7 separate regions of the Homo sapiens genome follow, and regions 1, 2, 3, 4, 5 and 7 are each linked to region 6. Evidence: promoter capture Hi-C in 16 types of primary human blood cells and fetal thymus (Javierre and others, 2016). All regions are on one chromosome and are shown on one strand. The core of a region is centred on a gene start or on the middle of the fragment in contact, and the rest is flanking DNA. Distances in the headings are between cores, read along the strand shown.

The links. The method cuts DNA at HindIII sites, captures the fragments that hold promoters and counts their contacts. A CHiCAGO score of 5 or more calls a contact.
Region 1: a contact is called between a fragment that was not itself captured here and the fragment with the promoter of ROR1 in region 6, in 3 of 17 cell types (M2 macrophages, M1 macrophages and megakaryocytes). The highest score is 6.8, in M2 macrophages.
Region 2: a fragment that was not itself captured here is called in contact with the fragment with the promoter of ROR1 in region 6 in 8 of 17 cell types (endothelial precursors, megakaryocytes, M0 macrophages and 5 more); the score reaches 14.5 in endothelial precursors.
Region 3: a fragment that was not itself captured here is called in contact with the fragment with the promoter of ROR1 in region 6 in 3 of 17 cell types (endothelial precursors, erythroblasts and M0 macrophages); the score reaches 7.8 in endothelial precursors.
Region 4: a fragment that was not itself captured here is called in contact with the fragment with the promoter of ROR1 in region 6 in 6 of 17 cell types (endothelial precursors, M1 macrophages, megakaryocytes and 3 more); the score reaches 10.1 in endothelial precursors.
Region 5: a contact is called between a fragment that was not itself captured here and the fragment with the promoter of ROR1 in region 6, in 1 of 17 cell types (M0 macrophages). The highest score is 5.5, in M0 macrophages.
Region 7: a fragment that was not itself captured here is called in contact with the fragment with the promoter of ROR1 in region 6 in 1 of 17 cell types (endothelial precursors); the score reaches 5.1 in endothelial precursors.

What each region holds. Positions count from the first base shown.
Region 1 is chr1:64,248,793-64,253,017 of GRCh38, reverse strand. The region is part of intron 8 of UBE2U (ubiquitin conjugating enzyme E2 U); the gene reads right to left. Among named protein-coding and RNA genes, the nearest start is that of UBE2U, 47 kb to the right of the region's middle. The HindIII fragment of the contact is 9,203 bases long and covers 1-4,225 here.
Region 2 is chr1:64,132,656-64,136,359 of GRCh38, reverse strand. All of the region lies in intron 4 of ROR1 (receptor tyrosine kinase like orphan receptor 1), which reads right to left. Among named protein-coding and RNA genes, the nearest start is that of ROR1-AS1, 22 kb to the right of the region's middle. The HindIII fragment of the contact is 720 bases long and covers 1,638-2,357 here.
Region 3 is chr1:64,153,321-64,157,391 of GRCh38, reverse strand. All of the region lies in intron 7 of ROR1 (receptor tyrosine kinase like orphan receptor 1), which reads right to left. Among named protein-coding and RNA genes, the nearest start is that of ROR1-AS1, 43 kb to the right of the region's middle. RefSeq lists an enhancer at 1,661-2,211. The HindIII fragment of the contact is 949 bases long and covers 1,868-2,816 here.
Region 4 is chr1:64,231,818-64,235,777 of GRCh38, reverse strand. UBE2U (ubiquitin conjugating enzyme E2 U) reads right to left here. Exons shown (of 10, transcript NM_001366232.2): 7 at 3,129-3,217. Among named protein-coding and RNA genes, the nearest start is that of UBE2U, 30 kb to the right of the region's middle. The HindIII fragment of the contact is 993 bases long and covers 1,245-2,237 here.
Region 5 is chr1:64,196,179-64,200,262 of GRCh38, reverse strand. No RefSeq gene overlaps it. Among named protein-coding and RNA genes, the nearest start is that of UBE2U, 5.4 kb to the left of the region's middle. RefSeq lists enhancers at 3,207-3,707, 3,708-4,084. The HindIII fragment of the contact is 1,292 bases long and covers 857-2,148 here.
Region 6 is chr1:63,772,230-63,776,186 of GRCh38, reverse strand. ROR1 (receptor tyrosine kinase like orphan receptor 1) reads right to left here and starts at 2,170. Exons shown (of 9, transcript NM_005012.4): 1 at 1,679-2,170. The coding sequence starts at 1,769. RefSeq lists an enhancer at 546-1,109 and silencers at 975-1,269, 2,054-2,103. The HindIII fragment of the contact is 6,004 bases long and covers 1-3,957 here.
Region 7 is chr1:64,179,808-64,183,760 of GRCh38, reverse strand. It overlaps ROR1 (receptor tyrosine kinase like orphan receptor 1), which reads right to left. Exons shown (of 9, transcript NM_005012.4): 9 at 2,263-3,953. Among named protein-coding and RNA genes, the nearest start is that of UBE2U, 22 kb to the left of the region's middle. The HindIII fragment of the contact is 1,024 bases long and covers 2,042-3,065 here.

The sequences.
Region 1 (4,225 bases), core at 481-2,980, 480 kb before region 6:
ATCATGATTCTCAGCTTCTTTGCGTTGGTTTACAACCTGTTCCTTTAGCTCAGTGAAGTTTGTTATAACCCACCTTCTGAAGCCTACTTCTGTCAATTCAACCATCTCAGCCTCAGCCCAGTTCTGTACCCTTGCTGGAAAGGTGTTGCAGTCATTTGGAGGAGAATAGACATGCTGGCTTTTTGAGTTTTCAGCATTTTTGTATTGACTTTTTCTCATCTTTATGGGCTCATCTACCTTTAATCTTTGAGGTTGCTGACCTTTGAATGAGGTTTTTGTGGGGTCTTTGTTGTTGTTGTTGTTTTCTGTTTGTTTGTTTTTCTTTTAACAGGTAGGCCACTGACTGTTAGCAAATGTAGGGCTGCTATGGTTTGCTGGGGGTCCACTCCAGAACCTAGTTGCCTCTGCTTTTCCTGTACTTGGAAGTATCACCAGTGCGGGCTGCAAAACAGCAAAGATGGCAGCCTGTTCCTTTCTCTGGAAGCTCCATCCTAGAGGGATACTGACCTATTGCTGTCCCAAACACTCCTGTAGGAGGTGACTGGAGACCCCTATTGGAAGGTCTCTCCCAGTCAGGAGGAACAGGATCAAGGACCCACTTATAGAAGCCATCTGGCTGCTTTTTAGTAGAGAAGATGTGCTGCATTGAGGGGGACCCTTCCTCGTCCAGACCACCTGGCCTCTCCAGAGCCAGCAGGCTGGAACAACTGAGTCAACTGAACCACAGAGATGGTGGCCACCCCTCCCCTCAGGAGCTCCATCCCAGGGTGAGATCAGAGTTCTGTCCATATAAGCCTGGCTAGAGTGACTGAAGGCCCCCTACAGGAGGTAGTGAAAAGGAATGGACTGGGATCTCGCTTAAAGAAGCAGTCTGGGCACAGTCTGGCAAAGCAGGTGTGTTGTGTTGGTGGGGAGACCCCTCCTCGTCTGGAATGCCTGGACTCTCCAGAGCTGGCAGGCTGGAATGCTGAGTCAACAGAACTGCAGAAATGGTGACCACATTTTCCCCCAGGAACTCCCTTCTGTCTTAAGCAGACTCAGCCTATTGCTGCTGGTTGGCTGGAGCTCCAAGCTAGCGGGCCCCAACTTGTGAGGTGCTGTGAAAGTGGGACCCTCAGGATGGTGCTGCTTGGCTCTCTGGATTCAGCCCCCTTCCTAGGGGAATGTATGGGTGGATCTGGTGCCTCACTGGAGGATTTTAGGACCAGATTATGTAAAACACCTGAGTCTCTGCTAAGATTACACACAGCTCTGTATATTGGACCCAAGGCCCTGGTAGCAGGGGCTCATGAGGGGATCTCCTGATCCACGAGTTGCAAAGATCCGTGGGAGAAGCATGGTTTCCTGGGCAGGGTCACACACTCACTCACTGCCTCCCTTGTCTTGGGGTGGGGATTTTGTTGGCGTCATGCTGCTCCTGGGTGGGCTCTCACCTCACCCTGCTTTTCTTTGCTCTCCATGGGTTGAACTGATTGCCTAGTCAGTCCCAATGTGAGAACCTGGATACTTCACTTGAACATGCCAAATTCACTCCCTGTTCTGAGTTTTCTCTTTTTTAAATCAGAAATGGATACAGAATTTCTTTTCATCTATTGAGAGGATCATATAGTTCTTCTTTCTTATACTAATTTACATTATTCGAAATTTTCAAATGTTAAACCAATGTTACATTTCTAGTATAAACTCCATATAGTCATGATGAATTATCATAATTATTTACAATTATTTATCATAATTAATCCTGACCAAGTATAGTTTATATCAGGAATGTAACCTTGATTTAACATTCAAAAAAACTAACACATTTTAAAACTATATTATATATGTTATATATATATTTAGATTAAATATACTAAAATTTTTGCATCTGTGTCTGTGAGGCATATTTATCTGTAGTTTTCTTTTTTTGGGGGGGCGGGGAAGGATTCCCTATTTATTGATTTATTTATTTTTTATTATACTTTAAGTTTTAGGGTACATGTGCACAACCTGCAGGTTGGTTACATATGTATACATGTGCCATGTTGGTGTGCTGCACCCATTAACTCGTCATTTAACATTAGGTGTATCTCCTAATGCTATACCTCCCCCCTCCCCCCACCCCACGACAGGCCTTGGTGTGTGATGTTCCCCTTCCTGTGTCCATGTGTTCTCATTGTTCAATTCCCACCTATGAGTGAGAACATATGGTGTTTGGTTTTTTGTCCTTGCAATAGTTTGCTGAGAATGATGGTTTCCAGCTTCATCCATGTCCCTACAAAGGACATGAACTCATCATTTTTTATGGCTGCATAGTATTCCATGGTGTATATGTGCCACATTTTCTTAATCCAGTCTATCATTGTTGGACATTTGGCTTGGTTCCAAGTCTTGGCTATTGTGAATAGTGCCACACTAAACATATGTGTGCATGTGTCTTTATAGCAGCATGATTTATAATCCTTTGGGTATATACCCGGTAATGGGATGGCTGGGCCAAATGGTATTTCCAGTTCTTGATTTGTAGTTTTCGTATACTGTCTTTGGTTTTGTTATTGAGGTAATGCTGACCCTGTAACGTGCTGGGAAGTGTTTCCTTCTTTTTTCTGAGTTTGTGTATATTCATGTTTTCCTTAAATGTGTGGGAAAATTCTCCAGTGAAGCCATCTGGGTTTAAAGTTGTCTTTGTGTGAAGGCTTTTAACTATAAATTCCTTTATTAGATACAGGATTACTCAGGTTGTTCATTTCTTTTTAAGTGAGGCTTGGTAGATGTTGCCTTTCAAGAAATGTGTTCATTTCAACTATGTGGTTGGATTTATTGGTCAAAAAACGTTTTTATTTTACCTTCATTTTAGAGAGAGCTTTTCACTGGTTATAAAATTCTATGTTTAATAATTTCTTTCAAGCACTCTGAAGTTGTCATTTATTATATTTTGACTTGCAAGGCTTCTGACATGAAGTTTTTGGCTATTCTTATCGTTGCTCCTTTATGTGTAACATGTGGGGTTTCTTTTTCTCCTTTGCTACTTTTAAGATTTTTCTCTTCATTTCTGAGTTTCAACAATTTGATTATGATGTGCTTTGGTATGGCTTCTTTATATTTCTGTTTCTTGGGATTCATTGAACTTCTTGGTCTGTGAATTTGCAGACTTCATCAAATTGGGAAAATTTTCAGTCATAATTATTTCTTCAAATATTTTTTCTCTCCCTTCCTCTGGAACACCATTTATATGTATCTTCTACCACTTGATATTGTCCCACAGCTCACTGAGGCTCTTTCGTTTCTTTTCAGTCTTTTTTTCTATCTTTTTTTAAAGAGATTATATTGCTACACTTTCAAGTTCATGGGTCATTTCTTCTGCAGTGTCTAACTTGCTGTTCTTCCCATTAAGTATATATATTTTTAAATATTTGATTTATTTTTATCTCTAGATATTCCACTGGTATATCTTCCATTTCTTTCATCATATTCATGTTTTTCTTTAGATAATTCAGTATATTTTATAAGATGTATAGTAGCTGCTTTAAAGTCTGTATCTGTTAATTCTATCCTCTCTATCACTTATGGATCTATTTGTATTGATGTAATTTCTTTTGGTTGTGGGTCATATTTTTCTGCTTATTTGTATGACTGGTGATTTTTTTTTTTTTTTTTTTTTGAGACAGAGTCTCACTCTGTCACCCAGGCTGGAGTGCAATGGCATGATCTCGGCTCACTGCAACCTCCGCCTCCCAGGTTCAAGCGATTCTCCTGCTTCAGCCTCCTGAGTAGCTAGGATTACAGGTGCCCACCACTGCGCCTGGCTAATTTTTTGTATTTTTAATAGAGACAGGGTTTTGCCATGTTGGCCAGGCTGGTTTCAAACTCCTGACCTCAGGTGATCTGTCCGCCTTGTCCTCCCAAAGTGCTGGGATAACTAACAGGCGTGAGCCACCGCGCCTGGCTGACTGGTGATTTTTCAATGGGTTGCTGGACATTGTAAATTTTAGGTTATTAGGTGCTAAATTTTGTTATGTTTCTTTAAATCTGATTGTTCTTCATTCTGGCTCACAGTTCAGTTTTTTGTGAAAATCAGTTTGATACCTAATATGGCCCCACTATAAAGCACAGCTCTTCTAAATTTTAGTCAATGTCTGTTAAATTATAGTGTCTCTCCACTCTAGCTGGCAGGATTTCCAGCTCTTTGTGAGGCTTGTGTAAGTTTAAAAAAACCGTTAGGATTTTATTTTCCTCAGGGCAAATA
Region 2 (3,704 bases), core at 748-3,247, 360 kb before region 6:
AAAATACACCGTTTTTCCCCTTTGGTTTCTTCTAAGTAAAAATCCCTCAGAGCAAAGTCAGGAGAACAAAATTCTCTTCCTGAGTTTAACATTTGGGCATCCTTAGGCAAGCTGTCTGAGCCCTCTGAGCCACAATTTTCTCATCTACAAGTTGGACACAGTAACTGACTTCTCTGCCCTACATGGGAAAGTCATTATGATCCCATCAGATAATGTAAAAGCTTTTTTAAATTGTAGAGATAATATATGGCTATTCTTAAAGTATTTACAATGACCAAAGGGACATTTATTTAAAAGACAGTTATTTACTAAGCTCCCACATCGTAAGAGGCACTGCGGTTAGTGCTGTGGTGCTCACTTCCCAGCTTGAAGGTCTAGCGTAGGAGTCTAGAAAGTCAAAGTATAGGAGCAAACCAAGTGGAAAAATCACCTGATAGGACACTAATTTTCTGCTTCTCTCTACTCCCATTCATTAAAAGAATCATTTTAAAGGTGAAAGTGGGGGAAGTATCTTCAGTTTAGTACTGAAAATAGTTTGTGTTGCAAAGCTCTTAAAAACTTAACCTTTAAATACACATACAAATGAATATATCATATACCTGACATAAAGACATTGAAATTTTACTGTTGCACAATCCTGCAAGCACTCCACATGTTTACTTTCATAAATCCTAGAGTAATGCTGAAGCCTTTTTGGCTTAAATTTTACTTGGGTTGTAAAATTAACCCAACTTTTATTGGGTAACTAATACCATAAACCTATGGGGAGAAAGAAGGTTCTTGATGACCCACACTTGGATCTTGGAAACCTAAGTACAGAGACCAGAATACACCCCCATGCCACCCCCCTGCTATTACAGATGATGCTTTTCTATCCCTAGGCATTAGCAGAGCCCTGGATTTTTAAGGTGTCATTATGAGAACACTTCTTTCTCCCCCACATTAAACTCTCAAGGCTTCAATTTATATCTCTTGGGAGGACAAAACCCTGGAATTACCCCCAGATATAAATCCCCAACCTACTGGGAGTTCCCATATTTTATGTGTGAGGCTTAGGCTAAACTTCTTACCACCTTTCCAGTTCAAGACTCTTAAAAAGACTCTTTGAATACTTTTTTTCAGAATAAAATGGAATGCAATTCCTTGGCTGCACATTTCTTATCAAAGGCTTAGAACTGCAGGTGTATTAAATTTTTGACTATTCCCAGAATTCCTACTATCCTGTTCAGTCTCCTGGGAGACAGATTTTTTAAAAAAGAACACAAAAAAACCCCAAAACCAGTATGTACTGTTATCTGCTGGGGAGTGGTTCTGTCTTGGCTCCTTATGAGAATCGCCTTGGCAGCACACTGGGAGGCCGAGACGGGTGGATCATCTGAGGTCAGGAGTTCAAGACCAGCCTAGTCAACATGGTGAAACCCCATCTCTACTAAAAATACAAAAATTAGTTGGGTGTGGTGGCAGGTGCCTGTAATCCCAGCTAGTCAGGGGGCTGAGGTAGGAGAATCACTTGAACCCAGGAGGTGGAGGTTGCAGTGAGCCAAGATCATGCCACTTCACTCCAGCCTGGGTGACAGAGTGAGACTCCATCTCAAAAAAAAAAAAAAAAAAGAATGAAAGAATCTCCTTGAGAAGCTTTAGGAAATACGAATGCCCAGGCCCCACCTTAGACCTATTAAATCATAGTCTCTGGGGATGAGGCTTAGGTATCTATGCTTAAAGAAACCTATCAGGTGATTTGAATGTGGTTGAGAACCACAACACTGAAAAAAACCAAACATGTATTAAGTGTCTGCTGCTCTGGGCTGGGTACTGTGTTAGGTGCTTTCTTCAAAGCAGCCCCTGATGAGCTATTATCCTTATTTTACGAGAGAGAAACTCAAATTCAGAGAAGTTAAGTAACTTGCTCAAATTCACAAAGTCAGTCTGTGGTGGAGCTAGGATTTAAACTGAAACTCAAGATGAGGCCACTATCCCATGTTGTTAGATCTGTAACTATGTTCTGCGTTTCAATACTACTCTTAGTTAAATCAGCCTACTCGAGAAAGAGACCTTATAACGAGTCTTGATTCTGTATCAGATACTGCTAAGTTTTATATACTTACAAAACAGATACTAAGTCATTTTATCCCAACAACAATCTTATAAAAAAAGGTAAAGATGTAATTATTCCTGTTCTACAGATGAGAAAAGTGAGACTCAGAAAGCATAGAGAACTTATCCAAAGTTACGCAGCAAGTAGAAGAGCTAGATTTGCTCTAAATAGTGTTTCTAACCACACTCTATAACTTCTTTCCAAGTGGCTTGGCAATGGAGTTTTTGCACTGCTTAGAGGGGCTTTCTGCTGTGGAGAAGCTTTGGTGCATTCTGGGTGGTAAAAGGTTTTCTTTTAAACATAAAGTCAAAAACACATTTCTTTCTTTTCCATTTTTCCCCACTGGCTTTGGCTGGAGGGGAACAAATGCTCCTCCAGCATTAATCAGCTTTATGCTTTTTTCCAGCTCACACTTCTTTCATCATTGATGTCTTCCTGCCTTACTCCATGCTCAGCAAATTAAAAACATGAAGCAAGTGGCAAGGTAGCAAAAGTGCAAGGGCACTTGCAGTGAGCGTGCCCAAGGCTGCATTCAATGGAGAAGAAAAGTGCATTGTGAAAGGGCAAATGGAATTTGGCCATTCATCACAGTGGCTGGCACCAGCGTGCGCCGCTGCCTCACCATGATGTCAAGGTGCAGGGGTGCTTTGTGATGGGAGCTCATGTTTCTCATAAAGGTAATTGAGTTACCATGTTGCCAGCCTCTACAACCTGCCATATTCTCTGCCATGGGATTGGGAAACGCAAATGTGGTCTGTAATCCACCTCCAGGGTCTCCTCCTTCTCCAGGGCAAGGAGCTTATGAAGGATATTTGAAGAGTGCTAAGAGGGATCGTGGAACAGTGCGGCAGCAAAAGGAGTGCCCATCTAGGAACCACTGCAGAGCAAGGAAAGGAAATGCTGTTCTGCAGAGACTTCATAATCTAGTTCTTGCCAGTTTTTCCAGCTTCCTTCCCTGCCAGACAAGCCTACAAGCCTGATGGTATTAGTCATGTGGATGATCTTGCTAGTCTCAAACCACAGGATGCACTTCGATGCGGACATGGCTTGACCCATGCTCATCCTTAGGGCTGGCATGCCCTCCACCCCCTCGTTCTCCTTGTGAATGTTCTCATCTTTCAGACCCAAATGCCCCTACCTTCCCTGGAAAGTTAGTCACTCACTAACCCCACCCATTCCCAGTACTTTCATCAAACCATTCCACAGATTTCCAGTTTCATATACTATTTTATCTGTTTAGCGCCCACCTTACCACTGACAGGCCAATAGAACTAGAAGAGATGAGGAGACTATCCCAGGGTAGCCCACCAAAGTGGACCCTTCTCCATACCAGGAGTATCCTCTAATTGGAAGCGATTTTCTTCCTCATCAGAATATACAGGGCATGGGCAGACATAGCTGAACCGATCGGTACTGACAAATTTGGTCCTAAAATATTCTTTTTGGGGATAATTTCAGTTAAAATGCCTATCTCTCTCTCTTTTTTTTTTTTTTTTTTTTTTTTGAGATGGAGTCTCGCTCCCATTGCGCAGGCTGGAGTGCAGTGGCGCGATCTCAGCTCACTGAAACCTCCACCTCCTGGGTTCAAGCGATTCTCCTTCCTCAGCCT
Region 3 (4,071 bases), core at 1,093-3,592, 380 kb before region 6:
TGAGGCAGGCAGGTTGCTTGAGCCTAGGAATTTGAGACCAGCCTAGGCAACATGGCGAAACCCCATCTCTACAAAAAATTAAAAAAATTAGCCAGGCATGGTGGTGCATGTCTGTAGTCCTGGCTACTTGAGAGGCTGAGGCGGAAGGATTACCTGAGCCCAGAAGGTTGAGGCTGCAGTGAGCTGTGATTGCGCCACTGCACTCCAGCCTGGGTGACAGAGTGAGACCTTGTCTCAAAAAAACAAAACAAAACGCAATTTTAATATTTATCAAATATTTTCTACTGGTGCAAAATCATGTTAGCTATTATTACTATGGACCAGGTGCTTTTCATAAACTCATTTTATGTCACAACCAACTCTATAAGGTAGATGACATCCTTATCCTAATTTTTATAGGTGAAGATGCTGGAAGACAGAGTGGTTAAGTAAGTTGCCCAAGGACATGCTGCTAGTAAGTCAAAAGCTGGGATTCCATCGTCGGTCTTGCTTTTTGCCCACCATTCTAGCTACTACACTTCACTGCCAATAATTGGAGAATTTTGCCCCTATTTTCTCATAGTAGGGTTCCTCTTGTTTCATGGAGGTAGGAAGGATGAGGGTGATCTGAAAGGAAGGGAATAACACTGAAGTTTTGCCAAATGTGATGCTTTTGAAATCCCTGCTTTTTTTTTTTTTTTTTTTTTGAGACGGAGTCTCGCTCTGTCACCAGGCTGGAGTGCAATGGTGCGATCTCGGCTCACTGCAACGTCCGCCTCCCGGGTTCAAGCGATTCACCTGCCTCAGCCCCCTGAGTAGCTGGGACTACAGGCACGTGCCACCACGCCCAGCTAATTTTTGTATTTTTAGTAGAGACAGGGTTTCACCATGTTGGCCAGGATGGTCTCGATCTCTTGACCTCGTGATCCGCCTGCCTCGGCCTCCCAAAGTGCTGGGATTACAGAAAATCCCTGCTTTATACACTGTTACAGGTAAATATATAACCCAGGCATCACTGGAGGCCGTCGTAGTCAGTGCTGGTTGCACCAGTAATGATTGTGTCTACATGCCTATAGATAGACAGAAAGGAATCACCTGAGTAGAAGACGGTCTGCCACAGGGCACCAAGTCAGAAACCTCTGAATAATGCCTTTTCATTATCTACGTGACCTTCAGTAGGCCCTTTGCCACTCCAAGCAAACTCATCTGTAAAATGGGAGTAATACCTACTTCACAGAATTGCTGTAAGCAACAAATCTATTCTAGTACCAGTTACCACTCAATGTTTACCCTTTACCCTTAGACTAGAGGGGGATTCACAGGTAAAAGTTTTGGGCTAGATAATCTTAAGCAAGAAACAATCTCTCTGATCTCCATTTCCTCATTTATTCAATGGAATAAATACGATTGGTAGAGCAGGAATAATAGTCCCTGCTCTACCAATCTTATTTGGTTCACCTGAGAATCAAATGAGATAATGTTCATGAAAGAACCTTGGATAATTGAAAATTGCCATACAGTTGTTGGATGTTATGGTTATTATTAACATTATAAACCATTTTCATATTTCTCAGTACCCTAGGGGGGTAAAGTCTCTGTTGTTATTCTTGGTTTTTCAGTGAAATCATTTTGAGGGTAATGATTACAAAAGCGATGAGGCTAATTTAGTACTAACGCAATGCTAGTCATTTTTCCAGGCCAGATTTTTAGCAACAAGAGAAAGTAGGGCCTCACCTGCCTGGCAAACAAAGGAGTCTATTCTGTATTCATGCCCTATCAGATTATTCATGGAAGGTCTTCTATTGTAAACGAGGGTCTGGGACAAATCCCCCTGTAGGTCTGCAGGAGAACAAACTTCAAGAAGCTGAATCCTTTAAACAGTCAAGCTTGGCTCCTTCTGATTACACTGAGGATATGCTAACAAGCACAAGGGGCCCAGTGTCTTTTTGCCAAGTGAAATAATCAAGGAGAACAATACATGGTCATGTTGGAAGTGACAGAAACACATTCAGGCCCATTGTAAGTCTTCCATACAAAGTGCTTCCTTCCCTACACAGCTCTCTGCATTTGGCCAGAAGGGGATTCAGTCTCTGCTGGCTCTGAAAATCTTCTATAAAAATATTCCATAGAACAATGAGCCTTCCAAATGAAAAATTAGAAAACTAATATCTGCCTAGGTTCTTTTTGAAGTCCGAGCATTTGTATTCCTCATTTTAACCCGGAAGGCACATTGGTGTTATCTTGACTTTACACACAGAGAAATTAAGACCGAGAAAGGAAAAATAACTTGTCAAAGCTACAAAGTAGCAAAGTCTGGGTTGGAATGCAAGCCTGTCTACCTTCAGTGCTTCTAGTAAATTATATTACTAATCAAAATTACCCTAAAACATTATATATATAATTGTTTTTCATCATTCTCCTTAAGAGTCCGAAGTTCTCTTTCAATGAAGACTAATATCTGGTGGGAATCATACTATTTTAAGAAAATCACTTTGGAACAATGGACATTATTCTTACTAGTCATTTTAAAGGGTAATGGACACCTCCAATGCATTACAGAGAAAATCGGCTGGAAATTAGAATGTTGAAGATTTTTAATACTTTGGAATAACTGTTTAAAAGTGAAATGCACATATTAGTTACATCAAGTTAAATACTTGAGATTTTTGAAACCAACCACTTAGTCCAGATCACATGATTAATTTCCTTTTAAAAATCAAACAATTTGGTATCACAGTTCACATCTGACATTCCTATTTTATTTTTACAATGATATTCAATACTTTGATTAGTAATTAAATATAATGGAGAAAATACTCCTTTCTTTCCCTGAAGCTTAAAGCAAAGTAATCATGATTTCTTATTAAAGAGGTACTTTTAATAAAGTGAAACATCATCTGGGATATTACTTTGAGTTAAAACAAGAAAAGGCTCTGGTTTTAAATATGGCAAAGGTGGGAAGAAATCTTACAGAACCTTAGAATTCAAGGGAAATTAAACAAGTTTAAATTATAACCTTGACTGAAAAAAATTTAAAAACCATAGAAAACAAACAGGAATCACTACCAATTTATTACTTGAAAACTATAAAATAAGCAGGTTGGTAGCACATAGGGGCCTGCACCAGTGATTTAGGCATATGCCTGGAAGGCGAGAGAGAGAGGTAATTAGGCCTTCAGTTGGCAGGCTGGGCCCAGGCATTCACTCTCTTGACTTGATGATGGAAATACTAAGTAGATGATCTATTGCCTTATGTATTCTCAAATGAATTCTTTAAAAAAAAATGCTGAATAGGCCATATACATTGATTAAAATTTTCCCTGCAGAAAAGGTTTTAACTACAATAAGTTAGGGAGAGCAACTCATTTGTGAGCATTTGGGAAAAATCTTAGTAACTGGAATCCACACAAGTTCACTAAAAGTTTCTGTAAACTCTCAGGGCCTCAGTTTCCTCCTCTATAAAAGAATTGGGCTAATCTTTTTTAATAATTAAAAAATGTTTAATTGTAAAAAATACCGTAAAATTTACCATCTTAACCATTTTTAATTTTACATTTCAATAATGTTACATATATTTATTCTTGTTGTGCAACCAATCTCCAGAACTTTTTCATGCTGCAAAACTAAAACTCTATGCCCATTGAATAACTCCCCATTTCCCCCCTTCCCCCAGCCCTGACAACCACCATGGTACTTTCTGTTTCTGATTTTGACTATTTTAGGTACTGCATATAAGTGGATCATTCAGTATCTATCTTTCTGTGACTGGTGTATTTTACTTAGTCTAATGTCCTCTAGGTTCATGATGCTGTACCATGTGACAGGATTTCCTTCTTTTTATGACTGAATAATATTCCATTGTTTGCATATACCATGTTTTCTTTATCCATTCATCCACTGATGGACATTTGGGTTGCTTCTGCCTTAAACGGCTATCATGAATAATGCTGCAGTGAACATGGGTGTACAAATATTTTGAGACCCCGACTTCAATTCTTTTGGATTAAATACTCAGAAATGGGATTGCTGCATCAGATGGTAATTCTATTTTTAATTTTTTTTAGGAACTTCCATTCTGTTTTCCATAGCAGC
Region 4 (3,960 bases), core at 492-2,991, 460 kb before region 6:
TACAAGAATAAACTTACTATTATGATGATGCCAACGACTATGTATAGATTTGTGGCACAAGATAGGGAAAAGAGTTAATACCCCAAATCAAAATTTAACTACTTACCACTACTCATAAAAGATAAAGCTCTTAAAAATATGCACAAGAGTTTAATAATCTTTCTAATGCTAAGAATGTAACTGTAGAAAATGAAGTTATTAGAAGTTTCTCTTTTATTTCTGAGTTGTTGAAGAAGCATTCTATAATCTAAAAGCTTCATCTTTATTATTGCCAGGAAATTAGGCCATTAAAAAAAGATAGTGTTGGATCTCATCCAGCTGAACTATCAAAAGATAAAATGGCCAGCAGCACATGTAAAGTTTACATTTAATTTTTTTAAATTAAGTGCTGGTTATTATTCAAGGAAACTCTTGAAACATTCTTATAACAATTCCCTAGAAGAAGAAGAGGCAGGGTGATTGTGAAATCATGCACCAAGTGCTAGATTCAAAGTCTCAGAAATTCATCTGGGCTAGAGATAACAATGGCCAGTTATTACCTTTACAAACAGGGATGAATCACATACTAGGTTAGTGAAAGATGTAGAAACAACAAAATTAAACATTTTGGGGCCAAACTCTTTTTGAAGAAGAAACTGTGGTCAGTGGTGCCTTATTATTTCCTTCCATTTTTTAATTATTCTTTATTGCAAGACAATTATTCCCAAATCTCCTTAAGTTTTGGCACATGCTTCTATTTTTTTTTCCTCTAGCAGTTTGGAGTTTCCAAGTGGCCCTATATATTTACATGTTATTCTAGAAAGCACCCTCCTGTAACAATCTGTTTTTTGGTGGAAGGAGTTTGACTCTGAGTGGTTCCCTAGAGTGTGCCAATTAATGTCTCTCAACACAGTGTTTGTGTAATTAAGGGTTATTGCCCCTGCAGCCTATATGAGCTGCTCAGTGCCTCATACATAGTAGGTACACACAGCAGATGTGTTTGCTGAATTGACTAGGCAGCACTCAACAACAAATCTTTGACCTGAATTAACCATTCAGGTACTCTGGTATCAAAAATAATCAATATTTTATACTGATAGAGCTGCTAAAGATTGTATATCTTGATGTACCTTAAATTGTTTTGACCTATGAGTGAGGATGGTGATATATAATCACAAAATAATTAATAGCCAACCTCCTGAAAGAACATGTGATTTCTTAAAAGTTATTGATCTAATTTACCTTTTAAGGATATTTATTAAGCTTAGTACTATTTTTTGCCCTCATTTGTACCTTAAAACTTGATACTATTTTTCACTATAGGAAACTATCATAATGATGAGATGAAATATAAAGAGACTTCAAATTAAGGCAATGGTCATGGGGGTGTAGTAGAGTGGAAGCATTCATAATGTTGCAGCAGATAAAAATCAACAAGGCTTAATGAGAGAGATAAAGAGATGTAGGAAACATCTAAGATTCTGGCTTTGGTAAGAAAATGTAAAATTAGTGATCTACCACTAACCAAGAGAGGGAATAAAGGAAGAAAGATAGATTTGGGGGCAAGATGATGAATTCACTTTGAGATATCTTGAATATGAGATGCCTATAATACACATAGGTGAGATGTCCCCTGCACAGTTATAAATATGCATGGAAAATTCAGAAGAGGGATCTGGCTAGAGATGCAGCTTTAGGAATCGCTGGACTGTAAGCAAATGAAAACCATGGTAGTGGAAGAGGTCTTTCAGAGAGAGTAAGTAGAGAGGACTGAATGAAGAAGATATTGCCAAGGGAAGAGGCAGCAGTGTGCTTAGGAAGGGAGATGAAAAGCCATGGATGTATGGTATCATGTAAATCAAGGAGAGCACAGCTAATGGGAGTGCAAGTAAGAAGAGGACTAAAACGTAATCACTGCATCTGGGAATTCAGAAGTCTCTGCTACTGCAGAATGCACCATTTTAGAAGGATGGCTGAAGCAAAGTCGTATTTCAGTAAGTGTATGCAGACTGGACAACCTACTTTCATCCAGATAATGAAATAGTACTCTAAAGATCCAGTTAAATGGAACCGGAAAGTTGTCCAGCTCTCTCAATCTGTCTTTTTAGCTCCTGATGTATGATGGTAACAGATGATTTTTCCTTTTAGATTGATATAATTGAACAGCCCTATGTTCTTATGTTTTCTTGTTGAATTTCTACCTAATATTTCTTGTGGCTTAGAGGAGAAATAAAAAGGTTCTCTCTGGTGTGAAAGCTTTTCTCTGGGGTAAAGGAAGTAAAGTAAACCTCATAAGATTGGGAACTTTTCTGTTATTCCTCCAATTGACTATCTTTCTTTCTGGCTTTTAATCAGACTTCAGTCCAGGGCTCTATACAAAAGAACTTTGTATTCTTCTTTGAGAGGCTGAGGCGGGAGGATTGCTTTAGGCCAGGAGTTCCAAACCAGCCTGGACAACATAGTGAGACCCCATCTCTAAAAAGTAAAAATAAGGCCGGGTGTGGTGGCTCACGCCTGTAATCCCAGCACTTTGGGAGGCTGAGGCAGGCGGATCACGAGGTCAGGAGATCAAGACCATCCTGGCTAACACACTGAAACCCCGTCTCTATTAAAAATACAAAAAATTAGCTGGGCGTGGTGGCAGACACCTGTAGTCCCAGCTACTCGAGAGGCTGAGGCAGGAGAATGGCGTGAACCTGGGAGGCGGAGCTTGTAGTGAGCTGAGATTGCGTCACTGCACTCCAGCCTGGGCAACAGAGCCAGACTCCATCTCGAAAAAAAAAAAAAGTAAAAATAAAAAATTAGCCATGCATAGTGGCTTTTGCCTATAATCCTAGCTACTCAGGAGGCTGAAGCAGGAAGATCGCTTGAGTTCAGGAGTTTGAGGCTGCAGTTAGCTATTATTGTGCCACTGCACTCCAGCCTGGATGACAGAGTTAGACTCTGTCTCCAAGACAAAAAGTTAAAATTATTTTTTTTTGAAAAAAAGAACTAAAGTAATAGTTGTTGAATGAATAGTATATAGAGCCTACAGAGAAGTTTATCACTCTTACATAGCAGATGTGTGTCAATTAGTCTTTGAAACCAAGATAAATGTTAACAGATTAACATATACCAAAAGGACATAGGATAAGGATAGTTCACCTTACATGGAGTTCTGTAGTATTCTGTGGCTTTTGATGTAGCTATTCTGGACCATGTCTGGTAGTAATCACTAAATGAGGTTGTTTTAATTGGTCTGAAAATATAAATAAAAATCAGACGATGGGCAGTTTGTAAATTTTCTTTTTAAAATTATTGTACTGCTATATGGACTGTTCACATAATATCTTGTCACAAGATATTAAACTGACTTGCAAATTGTAACATGCATTTTTAACAATTGTATCCAATATACTGATTCCACCAATAATGAATACAAATAACGAAAAAGAAAATGTTCAAATCATATTTCAATGATAAATGTAAATATGGACCCACATGTATATTATAAAAAGAAAAATACAGGTTTAAGACATCTGCCTTTCATGACTAACATTAAAAAAGAACTCTAAGCAAAGCGTTATACCTGTCAATTTCTCATTCTATAAGAAACAATAAACATTTTTCTTGAACTTCAATGCCAAATTCTAGTAAAAAACCCTTATTTCTTATAATGGGGACAGAATACAAGTATTAGAATTGAGATTAGTTTAGTTTTTACAGAGAATCTGGCTATTTTCAAAGAGGGGAAAAACAGCTCTTTTCTAATACTCCTGGGTGCTACTTTCCCCTCCCTGTGCTAATATTAGTATGTCCTAATGGAGAGCAAAGATTGTTATAAGGTGTTAAATGAAAACTATAAAGCAGTCCCTTAAATAACTGCATTTCCAGGCATTTTTCCACAAACTTGCAGAGATTCTCAACACTCTATAAACAAAACATTACTTAAGCATATTTTTTCAGACATGTGAAATCACTAATTAACTGGCTTAAACAGCT
Region 5 (4,084 bases), core at 253-2,752, 420 kb before region 6:
ACAATAAAATGCTATTATTCTATGTTTCCTAAAACTAAATAGAAAGGATTTTTTTCCTGTGAAAACATCAACAGGATCTGGGATTGAATATTTTGGCCCTTCTTTCCAGCCCATCAGATTTCAACATGGGCTTGCATAGGATTGGAAATATCAGGTGAAAGTGAGTAAAGGGCTACTTCAGTGAGAAGGGAATAGGCCCAATTTGGAGATCGTAACTAGGTTTGTCCATATCACTGTGGTCCCACAATCCTTTCTCCCACCCTAATGGATTATTGTGATAATGAATTCAGAATCTTTTGTATTTAAAAAATATATTTATTTATTTATCATGGAAAACATGATATTTTGAAATATGTATATGTTATGGAACGGCTAAATTGAGCTAATTAACATAAGCATTACCTCATATGTTGAGGAAACCTAAAATCTATTCTTATCTATTTTCAAAGATACAACATATTTTTATTAACTGTAGTCATCATGTCATACAATAAGAATCCTCCATCTTTTGTTTAGAATTTCATTCTAGGGAAAATTTTGTTAAAGTAAAAGAAAGATAAAAGTAAGTAAGGTAAAAGAAAATTAAGGTAAAGAAAAACATTTTTTGTTGTGAATTTTTAGAAGATGGCATTTATATGATACTTTAGCACAATGAAAATCAAGTTGGAAGATATTCATATGACTCCCCCCACAACAAACCTATATTACTAGCTTTGACCTCTTCTTGGGACTTCTGACTAGTATACCTACTAATTTATATCCAAATGCCTGGTTGTCACCCAGCTGTCTTGTCCCAAACACATTTCAAACTCAAATGTCCAAAAATCAACTCATTACTGTTTCTCTCAACCAAGCTTCTGTCCCAGTTGGAAATTTGAAGTCATCTCTGACTCCTCCTCGTCCTCATGACTCCTCCTCTTCCTCATGACTCACAAGACATGCTGTTGTCTTAGCTTCTTCTCAAGCCTTACCAATAATGCTCAATTTCATAACCTTGTCATCTCTTGCCTAGATACAGAACATCTTTGTATTGTACTCCCTGACTCCAGACTTGCTTGTCATGAAACGTGATAGTAATGTATTTAAACTAACATGTGATCATGAAATTCTCTACTTAAAATACTTTGAGGGATTCCCCTTCATCCCAACGTATCCCATCTTCAACATGTGGATTTACTTCCAGGGATGTAGGTGGGATGGCTGAAATCACAGGCAACTTTATATGTGTCCGTCTCTACATTTGTATGTGTATGCAAATGAACTTTTTTTTTTTACTTGATAAACCACACACTACAGAATTAAATCTAAGTTTCTTAACATGGAAAGCAGAGCATTCCATAATATTTTCCTATTTATGCCTACTTTTATTGACACTCACTCTGCTTCATACTTGAGGTACCCGCTCCATTAAACTGCATTATCTTTTTCCTGTATGTACCCATCTTGCCTAGGCTCATCATCTTTTCTCCCTGACCTTTCTTCCTCTTTTTAAATCTAATTAAAAACTGTTAGCACATCCTGAAAGAGATAAATGCCTCCTTGGAGCCATCCTGAACTGCCAGAATGGGTTGTGTTCTCATTTGACCTGGGTTCACCTTTGTATATTATCACCACATTATTTTGAAACTATTTGTTTATGGGGTTTTCTCACTCACTAGAATATAATTTCTTAAGGCCATGGAGACCTGTTTATTCATCGCTGCATTCCCAGCACCAAGCACCTGGCTCAGAGGTGGTATCAGTATATTCTGATTGAATTGAACTTAGCAGAATAGAAAGTTTTGGGGCCAGGAGAGTGACCTTCCATGAAAGAACTAGGCATAAGCAAAGGAAGAGGGTTGCAGAGATGTGAAAAGCTGGGTGATGTAGAGAAGCTCAGCCAGCTCCATGACACATAGGAGGCTAAAGTCTGAAGGACAGTGACAGAGTAGACAATGAATCAGAAGCACCCCTGAGAGCAAGAGCCACCAGAGCAGAAGGGGCTGCAGAGCTTCAGCCAAGGCACCTTTTATAAGCAAAATCCCCAGGACGCCAAAAAGGAAGGGAAAGACACTTATAAAGGTCCCACACCCGGAGGGGCTGAGGAGACAAACAGGTTAAGGTTTCCAGAAATATTTTGGGAATGAATTTTTTGAGAAATAAAAAGCTTCCTGCCAATGTGAGGGTTTGGTACTGTTGTGTTTGGAGATGCTAACTAAACAAGATCACAGATATACTCACTGGCTGGCCAGCATCTTGTATTTTTTCTATCTTTTTGTTTTTTAGAGAGTTTTCCTCTGTTGCTTAGGCTGGAGTGCCTTGGCGCAGTCATAGCATATCTTATCCTGTGCATGCATGTGTGCGTGTGTGCATGTGTGCGTGTGTGTGTGTGTGTGTGTGTGTGTGTGTGTACCTAGCATCTAGCATCTGTGTAGCAACTGGATAGGTTTGCCTCCTACAATTAATATTATAGCAGCAGGAGCTGAAAACTAATAGCATCAGCTGTTCAGCCATCTGAGTCACTCAAAATTGGAAATTTATAAGGAGAGGCCCATCTGAAAATATTTTCTCTGCATGGGATCACCTTCCATTTATTACAACAAATGTCAGTTTTAGTAAACTTTTCACATACATGATATTATTGCTGTCATAATCTTCTTGTCACTTCTCACTCCTGAGCGTTGTCTTTCTCTGCCTTGTTCATCAGCTTTGTTGTGTTTGGTTGTGAGTTAGACAAACCAACTCAACTGGGAAAATAAATCCCCATCTTCAGTTCTTCCACTGCGTTAATTTATTAGTAAGTCTGTTGATAAATAGAATGTGCCTTCAAGGCAGACCTGGGTTCTGTTCTGTGTCTTATTAACCCGTAAAGATAGTCTTGAAGAAGTTACTTAGCTTCCCTGTGCCTACAATGTTCTCACCTGTAATTTGCGGCCAATAGTAATACTTACTTTGCAGGATCATTATGAGGATTAAAAGATATAATCCCTGCCAATGACTCAGTCACACCTGGCATAGAGTAAGTAATAGCCAACACCTGCACTTTCCGTGTGCTGAGCATGCTGTTCTAAGTGCTCTATGGGAATTAATTTCATCCTCACTAATAACTCTGTACAGTAGGTACTCTTAAGATTCTAATTTACAGATGAGGAAAACCAAGGCACAGAGACACTGGATGATTTGCCCAAGGTTGCACAGCTGGAATGCAACAGAGCCAGGATGCAAACCTGAGTCCATACTTTTAGCCACTAAGCTACTCTGCCTCACAAGTATCTCATGTTCTACTAAGTGAGCTCTCCGGCCTTCAGTAAATTATTGCTACTCTCAATAGTTGTGAGAATATTTTTGTCCGGCTGTTATTTTTGTTTTTGTTAACTATTGTGGCTGCATTTCTACCTGCTGTTAAAACGTAAACCCAAGAAAGCCAGACCACTGCTGTATAAAATAGTGCCCATCCGTGGCTGGCCTTCTCCCAGGCTGGCTGGACCCCAGGGCCTGGCCCTGCCTGAGCCTCCTGTGCCAATACTGTGACTTAGAAACAATGTTAGTGCTGGGCAGCTCTACGTCCCTCCCCGTGCTGCCTGTGCCAGCCCCAGGCTGCTGGCAAGCAGAGGCCAGACCAGGGCCAGTCTGGGTACCCTGCCCCTCAGCTGGCCCTGCCCAGCCACCCAGCCACCCTGGATATGGCTCTGTCCCTCTGCCACACCCCAGGCCCTGTGAGGAGTCCCCAAGAGGAGCCCACTGTACCGTGGGGTTAATAACCTCTGCTGCCTGCCTGGGTATCTGGGCCTGGCCACCAGCCGTGTTCTTCATGTGTTGATTTTATTTGACCCCTGGAGTGGTGGGTCTCATCCTTCTCATCTTGGCAGAGAGCGGCAGAGGGCTGCCTCACTGCAAACCCTCCCTTCAGTGTCAGTGATGGTTGTCCTTGTCTCAGAATAACCAGGGGCCAGCCAGTGTCTGACCAAGGTCAAGGGGCAAGTGGAGGGGCGGCAGGGATGGCTCTGAAGCCAGAAATGCCTTAAACTGCAAAGCCCCATCCCCTCTCCAGCCCCAGCCCAGTCCCCTTAGGAGCAGGATCAGATAAAGAAGGCTGTGGGGAGGC
Region 6 (3,957 bases), core at 921-3,420:
GTTGAAAGGTGAAGTACAAAGTAAAGGAGTCCACAGGGGAAATAACTGAATTAACCAAAGCCCCAAGCCAGGAGTCCCACCTTAGTTAAAATCACCCTGCTTATCTCCACCTCAATTTGCTGGGCAACCCAACTTGAGAAGGATGTTTACATTACTTAGGCAGCATGGCCCATTTTTACTTTTCACCCAGGTGTTGTGGCGCAAGGCCAGATGTTTGGCATCACCAAGCAAAACATCTATGTGACCAAGCTGTTTACATTTCATTAGGATTTTTCATCAGGAAGGTGCACTCCCTGCTGATGCACATCTTAATTACAATTAGGAGCTCTATTTACCCCCAGGAGCTTTCAGATTAGCACGACCACATTATAGGATCCGTTTCAGAAATCATCCTCAGAAAATGCTACTCTAGCTTCCAAAAACCATCTCTAAGAAATCAAAATTTCACACAACTTCCTTCCAGAGTGTGTTTTCTACCAAGAAAGTCAGCTAACTTTTAGTAAAAACTAATTCTGCATTCGTAGTCTATGTAGTGAATACATCTTTTTCCTCTCAACTGCTAAGTAGCGCAGAACTTTTTCTTTTCCTAAACACAGTGCTAACTTAAAAATGAAAGATGCATGATAAAAGAGCAGAGATCTATTTATCCGCTCAGGTTTAGGGCTGGGAGTGGGGGAGGGCAGAATCCAAAGGCTCCTCACCCCCTCAAGGGATGCATGTTAAAAGTGAGGCCCGAGACCCCGGAGACTTTAATCAACTTTCCCCCTCCAACCTCCAAAGAATGAATCGGTTGTCTCCACAGGCTCAGCCGGGCTCTTCCCTCTCATTGTGTACCGGCTCAGACGCAGCAAGGACCCCAGCTTCCCGCAGCGAACTAAGACGCTCCGGCTTGCGGTGAAGTCTTTCTCTAACTGTTGCGATTGTCTTTAGAGATTACCAAAATCAAATATGCATTAGATGGCTTTTCCCCCTCTTGTTTGTAACACGCACACACACACGCGCGCGCGCGCGCGTGCACACCCAAAGCACTTTGGAGCCGCAGGCCGCCTCTGACAGCACATTTTGCACAAAGTGGCAGCGGCTGCAGCGGCGCACAAGTTTTGGCCTCTATGATGACTCTCGGGAGGGCCGGAGGGCCGGGGGCGGTGGCGATGCGAGGCCGCCGGAGCCCCAGGAGGACAGGGCTTTTGTTTGCGTCGATCCGCGAGCCGCCTGGGCTCTGGCGAGCACCACTGAAAATCCAAACTCCCTCCTGGACCGCGCCTTCCGGGCCGGCTCGCAACTTGGGGGCAGGATAGACTTGCCTGAACACCGGCTGGGGCGCGCTAGAGGTCCAGGGAGACAAGGGGGGACGCCCTGCACAGAAGTGCCCCGATCACCCCCAGGACCCTCAAACCCCTCCACGCTTCCTGTCAGCGCTGACAATCGCTGCTGCGCACCGAGGAACGAGTCCCTGGGCGCGCCCCGGCCCGCCGCGGGGCTCCGGGGCAAACCCTGGCCTGGCGGGGCTCCGGGGCAAACCCTGGCCTGGCGGCGCCGGCGAGCCCCGTGGCGGGTGGCCGGACGCGCCCCGGAGCCAGCGCGGCGCTTCCTGCGTGTCCCGCGCCCGGCTGGACGGCGGAAGGGTGGCCACGGGTCAGGGGGTCTGGGCGGGCGGGGGCCGGCGGGCGCCTCTTACCTTGGGCAGCAGCCCCGCGTGCGGCCAGCAGCAGCGCGGCCAGCAGCGCCAGGAGCGGCGGGCGCGTCCCGCGGCGGCGCGGCCGGTGCATTCCTCCTCTCGCTGAGGCGGCGGCGGCGGCGGCTCCCAGGCCGCGCGCAGAACATCCACGGGCTCTTCCCGGGCTCCCGGCCGCCTCGTCCCGGCCGCTGGCGCTCGCAGGACGCCGGGGACGTCTGCAAAGCTCTTTGTCCCTCTAACCTGCTCCCTCGCCTCCGCCTGGCCGCCTCTGGATGCCGCGAGCGCGATCCCTTCCCAGCCCTCTGGCTGCAGCCTCGCCTGGGCCGGCGGGTCAGTCCCAGGCTGTCCGGGTCGCACCAGTGGGCGTGAGTCGCCCTGGGTCGGACTCCGAGAACAGCGCACCCTGCGCCCAGGGGCTGCCGTCCCGGGGCTCCCTCGGCGGCGGCGGTGGCGGCTGCTCCAGCTCTCCACGCTCCCTCTCTCGCTCAACTTGTCACTTTCCACCAACTCTCCAGCCCAGCGCCCCAGCCCCGACCAATGGGAGACGCGGCCCAGGCTGGCGACCCAGCGCCCTCTGCTGCAGCCTCTCAACGCCCGCACCCTCCCCGACTTCGCAGAAAGCGGTCGCGGCTCCCGCGTCTCGGGCACGCTCCCTCCCCTCCCCTCCCCCACACTCCTCAAACTCGCCACCGAACCGAGCGCCGGGGACCTTCGAGGCTACTTGACAGAAGGGGAAACCGAGGCTCAGAGAGACTTATCCGGGATCTCAAGCCAGTTCGTGGCTGGACGACAGTAGACCCAGGTTCTAGCAGCCTCAGCTGTGTCACTGTTAGCTGTGTGACTCTGGGTAATGGCACATTTATTGCTATCATACAATTTCCCTTTTGCTTTCTTCTTGGACCCAAGAGTTGAGAGAGTTCTTACACAAGTAATTTATACTTCGCCTTTTTGTCTTTAATTTGTAGTCTCACTGAATTCAATGTCATCTGTACTGCCTCCTGGCAAGATTTATTGAGGATTATCTGTGGTTATTTTTGCCAATGTCCCATGGTTTTTTGAAAGGTGTTTTTGTCTTCCGAATGTGAAGATAGAATACTGTATCGATTTATCTTCTTTGTATTCATTATTTTTTCAGGCCTTCTGAATCTTTGCATGTTTGTTTGTTTGTTTGTTTTTTGTCTAGCTGCTCTGCCATGAGCCAAGGGATCATTAAAGACCTCTACAATGAGTGTGTTTTTGTCCATTTCTCCTGGTTTAACTTTATGGATTTTGTAATTCATAAATACCCATAATGATTTGACTTTCCCTGTAGAGACTGCCTTTGATCATAAAAAGTGGTGAGCGCCTGCTGTTTTCAGGGCTGTGCTCTAGGCTCTGAAGATGCAAGGGTAATAGGACACCTGTCAGTCTTGCTCTGGAGGAACAGGAAGAAGCCCATAGTCTCTCAATAATCACGTGGCCACTTACTAAATACCTCCTGTTTGCCTTGTGTTTTATATGCATTTGCTCACAAATCCTCCATTGACACTAAAAAGAGTCATTAAAAGTATATACTTCTTAGCTGTTTTACATATATTATCCCCATATTACAGTTTTAGAAATTGAAACTCAAAGGGAAAGTAAATGACTTGCCCACAGTCTCACAGACATGGGGTAGCCAAGCCAGCACTCAGGCTGTTTCCACTGAGAGAGTTAAAGCCTGTAACCAGAGCCTGGCACATGATAAGCACTCACTCGGGAGTTGTTGCTGTTGCAGTAGCCTCTAAGAACCCAGCTTTAGGGTTTTAAAATGAACAGTCACTTCATGGAGGGCGAGGACTCTGTCTCAATCATCTAGGTATCTTGCTGGCCTCTAACAGTACCTGGAATGCAATAGGAGCTCAATTAATGAACAAAGGTTAGGTCACCATTTGGAAAATATTAATTTCTCATCATATTTGTTTTATAGGGGTGCATGGAGGAGGGACAAAATTTCATCCATACTCCTTGGCACCAGGAAAAGCAGATCCCTGAGAGCTGAGACATTAGAAGGGGGAAAAAATGCAGCCCAAAGTATGTCCCAGCAGGTCATGGACTCCAGACTCCCAGCCCTTTGCCTTCAGGCAGGTGAATGACTAACCCATGCGGGACAAACAGTCACTTATTCTTCTCCAGGACTTCATGGCAGGAGCTGTGTCGGTAGTTTTCCCCCTTTCTATCGCTCTGACCTGAGGTCAAAAAATGATAGACAGAGAGGCCTTGGGTCAACCAGTTCATTACCTACATTGATCTGTCCCCCA
Region 7 (3,953 bases), core at 1,304-3,803, 410 kb before region 6:
AAGAGTATGAACTGCACCCCAGAACCTCCCTTGGATCCCTCTTTCTGTCCTTCCTCAGAGCTTTCAGCCCTTTAAAGGCAGAGGAGAGCAAAGTCCGGGCAGAAGAGCACTCATGGCCAGCCAGGGACTGATGATGGATTCCAGCTGGCCAAGGAAAACAGCAGAACAAGCCACAGGTGTCTGCATCCAGCCAGCTGGGTCAGGGCATCACAGGAAGTGCAAGGGAGGGAGGGGAGCCCCTGCAGCAGCTTCCTGCTTGATGCTTACTAGGGCTGAGCCTATCCCTCCTCCCAAAGACCAGCCTATCCTTGACCTTATCTTTGTTAAGTTGCAACATAGAAGGGATTTTTGTTTTGTTTTGTTTTGTCAATCATCAGTTCATGGGTCAAAAAAACGCGTACTAAGAGACCAACTTCTTTGAGTTTGTCCATATGAAGGAAAAAGCATTTGGCCACTATCCAAGAATTTAGGTCTCAGGTGAACTGGATGAGGAATATCTTCTTGACAAAGACTACATGTTGTCAGTTTTCTATCCAAGGGAACAACTTCAAAAAATATAGCTAATTGTCAAATGGCTAACACAAACAGCTTTTAGTGCTGAATTTTACAGTAAAACTTGATTTTCTTTAAAGGGGAATAAAGGGGCTAAAATGTTATTAAATGCTTACGTGCACATTACTAAGAATGTAATGATCGGCCTGGCGCGGTGTCTCATGCCTGTAATCCCAGCACTTTGGGAGGCTGAGGCGGGCAGATCACAAGGTCAGGAGATCGAGACCATCATGGCTAACACGGTGAAACCCCATCTCTACTAAAAATATAAAAAATTAGCCGGGCGCGGTGGTGAGTGCCTATAGTCCCAGCTACTCGGGAGGCTGAGGCAGGAGAATGGCGTGAACCCGGGAGGCTGAGCTTGCAGTGAGCTGAGATGGCGCCAGTGGACTCCAGCCTGGGTGACAGAGTGAGACTCCATCTCAAACAAACAAACAAACAAACAAAAGAATGTAATGATCACCCACCCCCGTGCCTTTAAATTAAGTCAGTTCTTGATCTTTAGAGTATATCAGAATCATGTGAGGCTTGCTAAAACACAAATTTCTGGGTCTCATCCCCAGGATTTCCTCTTTAGCATTTGAGCTATTAGCTGAAAAAAAAAAAATGCTGTCTAAATTAAGAGGATGAACTTCACCCCTAGCATCTCCCGTGGATCCCTTGATTTAGTACTTCAAAGTAGGGCTTGATAATTTGCATTTCTAACCAGTTCCAGGGTGCCGCTGTTTCTTTGCTCTGGGAACCACACTTTGAGAAGTACTGGGATAGGTAATCATCTTAGAAGATGTGTGGATAAAAGAGCTCCTCTTTATTCAGTATTGTAGTAGGCATTATGGGAAGGTGATGCTAGGAGTTTGCAGATGTTGGTGATTAGGGAATTAAGGGAATCTCAGAGTTGAAGGGATTGGGGATGGCAGGAGGGTCAAGAGCTGGGAGATAAAAGAAGGAAATGGGGGTAAAAGGCAGGCTGAGGAATTCAAGTGAGAGGGAGAAACCCAGCCTGACACGGATCTCACTGCCATGTGAAGGGATTGCTTTATTGAGTTTGATTGTTGAGGTGGTGACAAGAGCTGTACCTAAAACAGATGGATAAGGCCCTAAAGGTTTTATTGTATTCCTTTCTGTGTTAAATAGCAGATATGGACAACTTCTTTGAACTTTCATTATGGTACTCATTTTCCTTGACCATGTGTATTAATTGCCAGATGAGGAACTCTTTCTTTTGGGCAAATAAGGTCATAAAGATAAGTTGTGACAATTAAATGGCCCCATTTATTTTATCAGTATGTTTGGAAGCTAAGTTGGGCATGATAAGATGTACACAGCCTCTTCTTCTTTAGAGTCCAAAGAGGTGACTTTTGATATCTAAGATTATATGGAAATATTAAGGCAGAAAATGATGCAACTATATTCTTAAAATCAAATATTTTTTATATTCCATTGGTTGTAACTATTCAATATATTATTTTGATTTTAAAAATTCAAAGCTTGCCATATATAGGTGGATAGTATTCAGTTATGAAATCATTAGGATTCCCCTCTCCACCTATGGTTGCTAGCAAAATAATGCCCAAGTCTGTTTTAAAAGCCTACTGAAAAAAAAAAATTTAATGAAATAACAGCAAATAGGAATTGTGATTCCTCTTTCTATAAAATGTAAATGTTAAAATCCCCAAATACCTCTATGACAGCAATATTCAGGAAATAATATTTTATAGTAAACATTTTTAATAAACAGCAGCATAAAATAATCAGTGTTTAATATCATCTCTGGTGTGTGAAATACAAATGCATATATCCTTAATATAAAATAGCCTTTTTGTCATTACAATTCAATGCTTGCCTATTTGAAATGCCCATAATAACAAATCAAACATTAAGTAATACAGTGATTAAATGCATGCAGTGAAAATAAGGAAAGATATGGTAAGGTGAGATATCTGAAAATTGCCATTATATATTTGAAGAAAATCTATATCAAGTTAAAAACAAAGGAAACAAGAAAAACAGACCAGATATAAAAATGCAAAGATATATTTTCACTTCTGTGACACAAACCATAAGCATAGTTTTGTGCAAAAAAGGAGAAAAAGATCTGAAAATAAAGTCATCTTACAAAACATTGTCAACAAAGGAAAAGATATTTTTCAGCTTGTGAAAAAAATACTATTTTAATACAAAAGAGACTGTGTTATATAGTATCACAGTGCGATTATAAAATACATTATTACAAGTGGTTTTGAAATTTCATTTGCTCACTTTAATGTTTTCAGTTATTATAAAATGTTTAAAATAAATGTTATAGTTCTTTATAAAAAACTAACTTGAATTTACTTTTTAACCATAATAATGTTTTACCAGAGTAGGTATTTTACTGGCTCATGGAATGCTAATTTCCCTTTAAGGGACTCCTAGAAAAACTCAAGATTCACTGAAATTGTGTACTTAAAATAATAAATATTCTTGGAAAACAATTGATTGTCATATGATATACAAAATTGTGGTTTGAAGCTTCATCATTAAACAGTTGCATAGCAACAAAAGGATACAAATATTCTCCTCTACCTAAAGTTAAGAAATGTAACTTCTGAATCAGCTTATTTATGCCACAAAAATATGTTTTAATTTATCTCCCAGAAATCTGGATATAACCAATTCTTCTAGTTCACAGTACCTATAAGTTCATGTTTGTTATTTGAAGACTCAGGTTTGGGAAAATTGCAATGCATTTTGGTAAACATATTTTCTTGATTTCTCATGCTAGTTGTATTTTTTAAAAATGAAAACATCAATGTGTTTTTCATTCTCTTACATTCTCCTCATCAAATATCATTTCCAGGAATTACTTTTATATCCCGTAAGTCTCTTTAGAAGTCTCTTATACCTTTAAAGTAAAAATGAGACTTTGAGACATTGTTCTTAGAATAAAGGAGTTTTTTTTTAACAAGAGAAAAATCAAAAGTAAAATTACTTTCTATATAGAACTTGAAACGCATAAGAATTCTAAACTTGGCAAAAGATGGTCGGCAGGTAAATGCCATGAGCTGCACATTTGAAACCTCCCACTAAGGCAAAAATGGTCATGTTACTTCGGTTTGCTAGTTTAAAGAATTCAGTTCTTGGTAACTTTTGAAATGAGAACTCAGTACTTGTTTTTTAGGAAGACCATCATATTTTGCAAAATAGAATTAATTGCCTTTGGATTCCAACTGACTGTATGAATACATTGTTGTAATTCTTGGGGCGGGAATCAAATCTGTGAACATTTCCAGCACAGAAAAAAAGGGAAAGAAACTTTAAAATTACTAGACATTTGTATCATGATGGAGTTTCCTACTTCCCTAGAGCCCATTGACCATAAGCACTCCAATGCCTCGGACAACTTGTAAACAGGGAGTTGC